Linked DNA regions of Homo sapiens: region 1 is linked to region 2. Evidence: promoter capture Hi-C in 16 types of primary human blood cells and fetal thymus (Javierre and others, 2016). All regions are on one chromosome and are shown on one strand. Each heading gives the region's core, a stretch centred on a gene start or on the middle of the fragment in contact. The rest is flanking DNA. Distances are from core to core; before and after follow the strand shown. Region 1 overlaps RGS3 (regulator of G protein signaling 3). Region 2 holds the start of HDHD3 (haloacid dehalogenase like hydrolase domain containing 3).

Region 1 (4,846 bases), core at 1-2,500, 220 kb before region 2:
CGGAGCATCTCTGTAGGGCCCCCCACCTTGGGGCCGCAGATTGGTCTGTAGGAGGCACCACTCTGGCTCCTGTCCCCCACCCCGCGTCCTGGGCAGCGGGCAGCAACGGTGCAGGCTGCAGCCACACACGCTCTCTGGAATCCTGGCCTGATGACTGGACTCCCAGGCACAAGCCGGGGCTGGGACTCAGACAGGAGGAGCCAGGAAATGGGAGGGACCAGGAGGGGGAGCGGAAAAAAAAATTCCTTCTGGCCAACCCTGAGAGGGAGCCGTGAAAGGGGCATGTGTCTGCAAGGGACAGCCTCTGGGGCCGCCCCGGCAGGAAGCCAGTCCCAGCTATTTGTGACTGGCCTCCTCGTTACCATGGCAGCAGGGAGACAGTGGTGGGGGGTGGGGGACAAGTCAGCAAATTGCTGAAAGGGAAGGAGGGAGCCAGGGGAGGCACTGCCCACCACCGGGGTGGCAGGACTGGCTATTTTTAGCCAAGAACCATTTTTAGCCTTGCCGGTCCCCAAGGAGGCAGCAGAATTCAGCACTGGGTGAAACTGCTGGCAAGAAAGGAGTTAAATGCCTCTTGCTCATGTTCGCCCCTCTTTTCCCTAGACCCCCTGTACAGGGCACCTCCCAGAGAATGGCTCCTGCCAGCCGGCCTCTCAGCCTCAGTCACCTGCATTGGCGACATCCAGTCATGAATATACAGCAGGACCCCAACATCTTAGTAGTTTTAAGCCTGAATAACTTCAGAAGTACAAGTCCTATAAACTTACAAAAACACCATTTTAAAGTTTAATTATTTAATGTTGTGTGCATGGTTTTGTGATTTTCGAATAATAAATGTTTCACTTTAAGTTTTGGTCTCCATCCTCCCAAAGATGGAAAATGCTGACTCAAACCAAAAATGAAAATGAAAAATTGATTATTCAAAAATCACATAACTAAAGACGTGCAAAAGAAATTTAATAATTAAACTTTCAAGGGGGTTTGGTAAGTTTGAAGCATTTATACTTCTGATGCTATTCAAGCTTAAAATGGCACTAAGACCTAGACACCCTGTCTAATGAAGGAGAGTCCTGCAGGGGAGGCTGATCCCAGGCTCTGGAGCTAGTCTTGGGTTCAAATCCCAGCTCCAGCAGTTACCAGCTGTGTGCCCTTTGACACGTTTCCTGATCTCTCAAGTTTCCTATCAAGGTTTTTTCTCTGTCAAGCTGTTTCCTCAAACAGAAGCCAGCAGGCCAGGTCTCCAGGTCCCAACCCCACCACTTTCTTGCCATGTAACTTAGCCTCTTTGCACAGTAGTTTATTCACGTGTAAAATAAGGGTAAGGTCAATAAGAAAGAACAGAACGGAAAATAAAAGTAGTGGTAAAGATTAAATTAGATTACATATGAAATACACACAGAACAGTGCGGGGCATAATAAACATTAATGGTTATTCTTATTATTACCGTAGATGTTCTAAGACTCTTCGTCTAAGCTTTTAAGAGTATGACCTTCAGAGGCCAGGCATGGTGGCTCATGTCTGTAATCCCAGCACTTTGGGAGGCCGAGGCGGGAAGATCACTTGAGGCCAGGAGTTTGAGAACAGCCTGGCCAACATGGCAAAACCCCCATCTCTACTAAAAGTACAAAAAAAATTTGCTGGGTGTGATGGCACACACCTGTAATCGCAGCTACTTGGGAGGCTGAGGGACAAGAACTGCTTGAACTTGGGAGGCGGAGGTTGCAGCAAGCCAAGATCGCACTCCAGCCTGGGTGACAGAAGGAGACTCTGTCTCCAAAAAAAAAAAGTGTGGGCTTCAGGCAATTCAAAAGGCAGCACCTACATTGAAAGGAGGCTAGACAGGGCTGCTCCAGCACCCGGGATGCCTGCCCTCTGCGCCACACACTGCTTCCCTACACCTCCCACTTCCAGCACCACATTCAACAGTCCTGGCACCCCCTGGATCCTCTCTCATCCTACAAAAGGTTAAGTGAAGATGGTTGGTGCAAGGGACTGTTTTGGTTTATGCATTTCACCTTGCTAAGAAAATGCAATTGGCTGTGGAGTAAGAGAAGCCAACAGTTGCTGCAGAAAGCTGGAGAGGTCAAGGCAGCTGGGGTGAGGAAGGCTTTCTAGGGTAGTGGACCCCACCCACGGTCAAGGCCAGAGAAGAGGGTTGCAGGAGGCTCCTCCCTATAGCCCAATTCCTGCCTAGTGGTGGGTGCTACAGGACCTGGTGGGGAGGGGCTTCCTCTGGAGGTGTCACTGTGCATGCACCCCACTGCCTCCTCCCTATACCTCCCCCGAGTCTCCAGGGTCTTAGGCCTGGGGGTAGAAGAAGACCTGAGAACCCACACACACATCTTTTTCATTGACACCTCTAACAAACACCCTATAGTATAAGAAGGCCTGAGTGTGGCCAGAAAGGCTTGGCGAGTGCGGGATTCGGCAGCTGGGCCAGCAGCGCCCCCTCCTGGCAATGCCTGAGACTATTAGCATTCAGGAGCTCAGGAAGAGAAAGAGGAGCCAATGACTGTCAGTTCCACCCCTTCTCAGGTCACTCTTGGGCCCAGAGGGAGCAAAGGAGTTGTTGAAGTCACTTGGTCCCTGCTTGGCTCAGAAGCTGGGCTAAAGCCAGGGCAAACGGGCTGGTTGCTTCTGGTTCACTGTGGCTTCCGGGTACTGAATCAGCACTTTGCCTCACTTGGAGAGAATGCTCAGGACCCAGGTGACCCCACTTTGGGGTCACTGCAAAGTTCCAAGATCCAGTTTTTCCTTGGTGTCTGTCTGGGGTTGTGGGCGGGACCAGGCACAACCTCTTCTCCCCACCTGGACCCCTAGAGGAGAGACAAGCCCTGGGGCAAGGGAGGAAGAGGAGCGCAGAAGCCAGGGATCTTCCCAACGTACAGGTTTTTGCTCTTTCTCTTCCGGGAGGCTTCGTCATCATCCCCAACGGTGTCAGCCCCGCTCATCTGCGGAGAGAAGACAGACACGATGCAGTCTGGGCACCCAGGAACTCCTGCCTAAGTAAACAGAGGCTCAGAGACCCAACATTCCCTGCCACCAGCCCCTTCCATCCCCAAAGCCCCCACCCGCGGCACACAGGTGAGGGAGGGAAACCCCACTGCTGGGAACAGCCTGGCCATGAAGTGGAATCGGCCTGGCAGACTCTCCGGCCACAGGGATCTCCTCCTGGGACAGTCAGGTCCCCAGCTCACTGGGGAGAAGCCAGACGGCTGGCACTCAGGACAGAGGCTTCATTGCAGGCAGTGAGCAGGTGAGAGGGCAGGGCTTCTGCTGTGTCACTAGGCCAATCCCTGCCCCTCTCTAAGCCTCTATTCCTTAATTTCTAAAATCAGGATCATAATGATTAAGTCAGGATTCTGAAGTTCAAAGGAGACCTGAGATGGTCAGCAGTGTATAAAATAAATCATTACACAGGCCTGAGTGCACCTCTCTTGCCTTATAGCTTTCCATGGCTCCCTAGTGCCCTCGGGATAACATTCAAACTCCGTAACACGACTGGATCTACCATCTTAGGATCAGGGCAGAAAGTTCCATTCAGTTATTCCTTCAGTTATCTCTCCAGCCTGGCCCCTACTTCAGCAACCTCCTCAACTCTGCCTTCCAACCAACAGAAGGTCTTCATCTCCATGTGCAATTCCTTCCTCGGGGGATGCTTTTGTGAGTCTCCCACCTGCATGGATGGATGGATGGATGGATGGATGGATGGATGGATGGATGGATATGTGGATAGGTGGATGGATAGATGAGTGGATGGATGGATGGATGGATGAATATATGGGTGGGTGGGTGGATAGATGGATGGATGGGTGGATGGATGGATGAGTGGATGGATATATGAATGCATGGGTGAATAGATGGATGGGTGGGTGGGTGGGTGGATGGTAGATGAATGCATGGGTGAATAGATGGATGGGTGGGTGGGTGGGTGGATGGATGAAGGAGTGGATGAGTGGATGGATGGATGAATTACACCTTCATTTAGCTCATACTATAGGCCAGACCCTGGATGGGGCATAATTCAGATACTATCTCATTAAACCTCACAATAAACCTATAAAGTAAATAGAGGCTCAGAGAATTTAAGTCACTTCCCCAAGGAGACCCAGCATGTAAGTGACAGAGCTGGAATCTGCCTCAATTCAAGGCCTGTGTTTCTCCACCAGAGGATGCTGCTACTCAAAAATGCAAGGTCAGAACACATTTTAATGTTTCCTGTGAAAGACTCGGGAAGTGCTGCCTCCTTCCTGAGAATGCTGCCCCACCAGAGTTGTAAACATACATGTGTGTACGTGCACACAGAGGCACACACCGTATGGTGTGTGATTTCAGAGCAAGTGTTTGGAACCAGACCTGGATATAAATCCTGCTTTCACCAACTTTGGGTAAGTTTCCTAGCCTCTCGGCTTCCATTTTTTTAGCTATGGCTTAGGCATAGTGACAGCCACTTCACAGGGCTGATGGAAGGTTCACCAGGATAAACTCTGGACCCCAAGGCCCAGTCCTGGCACCCACGCTAACCTCAGTAACCAGTGGTCATTGCCCAGTGAGTGTTACCACTGTCACCATTCAGGGCACCCTTCAGTGCACATACAGGCTGCACTCATGCTGGCCTGGCAAGGCCATGCCCAAGGCCCCCACCCGTGGGAAAGAGCCCTCGGGCCCTGGGCTTCCTCCCATTCTAACCTCAGCTTCCGTACTTTATCGGCTCCACACAATGGGCCTGGGGACCACTCCCACCCAGCCGCCATCCTCAGCCTCTGCGCTGCTGGGAAATGGGCTCTTCCTTCCACTGTGGGGAGGAGAGTGTCTTCAGCAGGGACTGACCCAAGCCTAGCAGCC
Region 2 (4,925 bases), core at 2,426-4,925:
GTTTGTATTTTGCATTATTATTATTATTTTTTGAGACAGAGTCTTGCTCTGTCACCCAGGCTGGAGTGCAATGCTGTGATGTCAGCTCACTACAACCTCTGCCTCCCAGGTTCAAACAATTCTTGTGCCTCAGCCTCCCGAGTAGCTGGGATTACAGGCACCTGCCACCATGCCCCACTAATTTTTGTATTTTTAGTAGAGATGGGGTTTCACCATGTTGGTCAGGCTGGTCTCAAACTCCTGACCTCAAGTAATCCACTGGTCTCGGCCTCCTAAAGTGCTGCAATTACAGACGTGAGCCACCACACCCAGCCTGTTATTATTTTTTAACAAGATGGGGTCTCACTTTGTTTCCTAGGCTGGTCTCATACCCCTGAGCTCAAGGGATCCTTCCACCTTAGCCTTCCAAAGTGCTAGGATTTCAGGCATGAGCCACTATGCCTAACCCTGAATATGTCTGTATTTTTTTTAATAGGAGAAAAAGCATATACATTTATTTGATCATAGTTTTTTTGTGACATGGGAGCCTTCAGAATGAAGAGCCACAGATACAGAGGAAACTGTCCATTTTTATGCTTAGGTTCAACGAAGTGTACATGGCCGTGTATGTAGGGAAAAGAGAGATCAGACTGTTATTGTGTCCATGTAGAAAAGGGAGACATAAGAAACTCCATTTTGACCTGTACCCTGAACAATTGCTTTGCCCTGAGATGCTGTTAATCTGTAACTTTGCCCCAACCTTGAGCTCACAGAAACATGTGTTGTATGGAATCAAGGTTTAAGGGATCTAGGGCTGTGCAGGATGTGCCTTGTTAACAAAATGTTTACAGGCAGTATGCTTGGTAAAAGTCATCGCCATTCTCCATTCTCGATAAACCAGGGGCACAATACACTGCGGAAAGCCGCAGGGACCTCTGCCCTGGAAAGCCTGGTATTGTCCAAGGTTTCTCCCCATGTGACAGCCTGAGATATGGCCTCGTGGGATGGGAAAGACCTGACCGTCCCCCAGCCCGACACCCGCGAGGGGTCTGTGCTGAGGAGGATTAGTAAAAGAGGAAGGCCTCTTGAAGTTGAGATAAGAGGAAGGCCTCTGTCTCCTGCCTGCCCCTGAAACTGAACGTCTCGGTATAAAACCCGATTATACATTTGTTCAATTCTGAGACAGGAGAAAAACCGCGCCGTGGCGGGAGGCGAGACATGTTGGCAGCAATGCTGCTTTGTTATTCTTTTCTCCACTGAGATGTTTGGGTGGAGAGAAGCATAAATCTGGCCTGTGTGCACATCCAGGCATAGTACCTTCCCTTGAACTTATTTGTGACTCAGATTCCTTTGCTCACATGTTTTCTTGCTGACCTTCTCCTCACTATCAGCCCGCTCTCCTATCGCATTCTTCTTGCTGAGATAGTGAAAATAGTAATCAATAAATACTGAGGGAACTCAGAGACCAGTGCCAGAGCAGGTCCTCCGTATGCTGAGCGCCGGTCTCCTGGGCCCACTGTTCTTTCTCCATACTTTGTCTCGGTGTCTTATTTCTTTTCTCAGTCTCTCGTCCCACCTGATGAGAAATACCCACAGGTGTGGAGGGGCAGGCCACCCCTTCACATGTAGAAACAGGATTGCACAAAACGCTAATAGACTGAATAGAGAAACCCACCAAGACCCATCTGTGTAGATTCTTCTTGGCCTCTCTGTGCAGTGTTCCTTCCTCCAGGGTATGCGGCAAGACCCTCTCAAAGGGGCCTGGGTGGTGGGGGCTGTCTTATGACCTGTCTTGCCTAAGGTCATAGTGCAAGGTGATGAGACTAAAGAGGAACAGAGCACAGGCACAGAAGTATCTCAAAGCTTCCCCTCCGGTACCTCCCCAGCCTCTTTGGCCCAAACCCCCTGGCTAGCAACATTCCTATAGTTCCTCAGTGTCTCTTTGGTTCGGAAAAAAAACTTTCTTGCCTGGAGGCCTTTGCATCAGGGGGTCCCTTAACCATCACTCAGATCCTTCCCCTCTGCATGGCCAACTCTCATATGTTTGTATTTTTTAGTTTTTTGAGACTAACATGCATTACATGCATACCTTATTTATTTATTATTTTTTTATTTTTTTATTTTTTTGAGATGGAGTTTTGCTCTTGTTACCCAGGCTGGAATACAGTAGCCTGATCTTGGCTCACTGCAACCTCCACCTCCCCGGTTCAAGCGATTCTCCTTCCTCAGCCTCCCAAGTAGCTGGGAATACAGGCATGAACCACCTCGCCTAATTTTGTATTTTTAGTAGAGACGGGGTTTCACCGTGTTGGCCAGGCTAGTCTTGAACTCCTGACCTCAGGTGATCCACCCACCTCAGCCTCCCAAAGTGCTGGCATTACAGGCGTGAGCCACCGCGCCCAGCCAACATACATTACTTTTGCAAACAAAGATAAAACTCTTTTTTTATTCTTCAAAAGAATAAAAAAGCTCCCTGGTGGTCTAGTGGTTAGGATTCCAGGCTCTTACCACAGGGATCTTTTTTTTTTTTTTTTTTTTTGGGGACACAGTCTCGCTCTTTGCCCAGGCAAATATTGTGCAGTGGCAGAATCTTGGCTCACTGTAAGCTCCGCCTCCCGGGTTCATGCCATTCTCCTGCCTCAGCCTCCCGAGTAGCTGGGACTACAGGCACCTGCCACCATGCCCGGCTAATTTTTTGTATTTTTAGCAGAGACAGGGTTTCACCGTGTTAGCCAGGATGGTACCACAGGGTTCTTAAAAACAAAAAGAGGCCAGGTGCGGTGGCTCATGCCTGTAATCCCAGCACTTTGGGAGGCTGAGGTGGGCGGATCACCTGAGGTCAGGAGTTCAAGACTAGCCAGGCCAACACGGCGAAACCCTGTCTCTACTAAAAATACAAAAATTAGTTGGGTGTGGTGGCACACACCTGTAATCCCAGCTACTGGGGAGTCTGAGGCAGGAGAATCGCAAGAAACTGGGAGGCGGGGGTTGCAGTGGGCTATCGCGCCACTGCACTCCAGCCTGAGCGACAGAGGGAGACTCCGTCTCAAAAAAAAAAAAAGAGAAAGAATAAAAAAGCAGGTTACTGCAGCGGACTCTACCCTCACCAAGTTATCTTGGATTTAACAAGTTTCCAACTGAAAGCAATTCCCTCCAATACCAACTGGGGACCCTGAGACCAGAGAGGGGCTGGGCCTTGCCCAGGTTCACACAACACTAAGCAAGCCAGGCTGGGTCCCAACTCCCCTCCTCCCACTCAACCTGGGTACTTCTCGGGGGTTTCCCGATCCAAAGGAGGCCAGGAGCCGGGGTTGGGGATGGGGAGCGGAGACAGCGGTGAGGAGCGGCGGTGTGGCGGGCAGGGGGTGCGCAGACAGGGCGGAGAAGGTGCTGGTAACGGGGGCTGCGGAGCGGAAGGGTGCGGGCTGGGGAACCTCAGAGGGTGCGGGGAGGGAATAAGGGGCGTAGATGGTGCAGGGTAACGGAGGCGCGCAGTGAAGGCGGGTGACAGGGGCGCAGAGAGGTGCACAGTGAGACGAAGGAGGGAGAGGGGACGGCGAGGGCGACGGGAGATGGGGCGGGAGAGGGCGAAGGTGAGGGGGATAAGGGCGGGGACGGGGCGGGGACAGAGGCGGGTCGGGATGGTAGGGAGGGGCGGCCCGCGCGATCCCCGCCCCACCGCCCGGCGCTTGCGCACCTCCGCCCGAGCTCGCGGGCCTTGCGGCTGCGTTTTCAATCTGCTTCCTTGTGAGTCAGGTGGGTCCTGGGCCCAGGAACCGGCCCGGAGCCGTGGACGCCCTACAGCTGAGAAGGGGACCCAAGGGGTCGGCCGCGGCCAAGGCCCCTAGGACCGCCGCCCCAGCTCACGCTGCCGACGGCAGCTATAGACATTCTGCGTCAGGTCCGGGCTCCTGGACTTCGCCTTTCCCGAGCCCTGGAGGTGGGGAGAAAAGGTGAGCAGTTCGTGCCTGCAGCGCAGAGCCCCAAACCCGCGGTTTTAGAAATCGAAAAAGCCCTGCCGGGCGCGGTGGCTCACGCCTTTACCGTAATCCCAGCACTTTGGGAGGCCGGGGGGCGGGGTGGGGCGGGGGAGGATCACGAGTTCGGGAGTTCGAGACCAGCCTGGCTAACATAGTTGAAACCCCGTCTCCACTAAAAATACAAAAATTAGCCAGGTGTGGTGGCGCGCGCCTGTAGTCCCAGCTACTCTGGAGGCTAAGGAAGGAGAATCGCTTGAATCCGGGAGGCGGAAGTTGCAGTGAGCCGAGATCGCACCACTGTACACCTGGGTGACAGAGTGAGACTCTGTCTCAAAAAAAAAAAAAAAGAAAAAAAGCCGGCCGGGTATAGTGGCTCACGCCTGTAATCCTAACACTTTGGGAGGCTGAGGTCGGGAGTTCGAGACCAGCCTGGCCAACATGGAGAAACCCCGTCTCTACTAAAAATACAAAAAAAAAAGGAGCCGGGGATGGTGGCGCATGCCTGTAATCCCAGCTACTTGGGAGGCTGAGGCAGGAGAATCGCTTGAACCTGGGAGGCGGAGGTTGCAGTGAGCCGAGATCGCGCCATTGCACTTCAGCCTGGGCAACAAGAACGAAACTCCGCCTCAAAAAAAAAAAAAAAAAAAAAAAAAAGCCGTGGGTCAGGAGCCAGAGCCCTCTGCTCTAGTCTTAGCTGTGCCAATGTGACTCCCTGTGTGATTTGGGGGTAAATTACTGCCCCTCACTGGGTCTCTGTCTACCCACCTGCAAAATGAGAGGATCTTTGGATGAGTCTCCTTAATTCATTTCCTGGACAAACTTCCTCCAAGGCTCCCCCAGATTTACCAGTGACGCCCTTCCCTAAGTATCAACTTAGCCGTACTTTGAACTCTGGCCCCTCAGGTTTCAAGGGGACGGCCTTGTCTGGGATCAGCTCTGTCTGGGGAAAGAAGCTGCACCAGCCTC

The links. Contacts are between HindIII fragments. The CHiCAGO score rates a contact against its expected background, and 5 or more counts as called.
Region 1: a contact is called between a fragment that was not itself captured here and the fragment with the promoter of HDHD3 in region 2, in 1 of 17 cell types (total B cells). The highest score is 5.2, in total B cells.

What each region holds. Positions count from the first base shown.
Region 1 is chr9:113,589,439-113,594,284 of GRCh38, reverse strand. It overlaps RGS3 (regulator of G protein signaling 3), which reads right to left. Exons shown (of 23, transcript NM_001394167.1): 19 at 2,888-2,952. Among named protein-coding and RNA genes, the nearest start is that of RGS3, 130 kb to the right of the region's middle. RefSeq lists enhancers at 4,317-4,816, 4,817-4,846. The HindIII fragment of the contact is 452 bases long and covers 1,025-1,476 here.
Region 2 is chr9:113,375,736-113,380,660 of GRCh38, reverse strand. It overlaps HDHD3 (haloacid dehalogenase like hydrolase domain containing 3), which reads left to right and starts at 3,675. Exons shown (of 3, transcript NM_001304509.2): 1 at 3,675-3,932. RefSeq lists a silencer at 3,304-3,823. The HindIII fragment of the contact is 9,890 bases long and covers 1,845-4,925 here.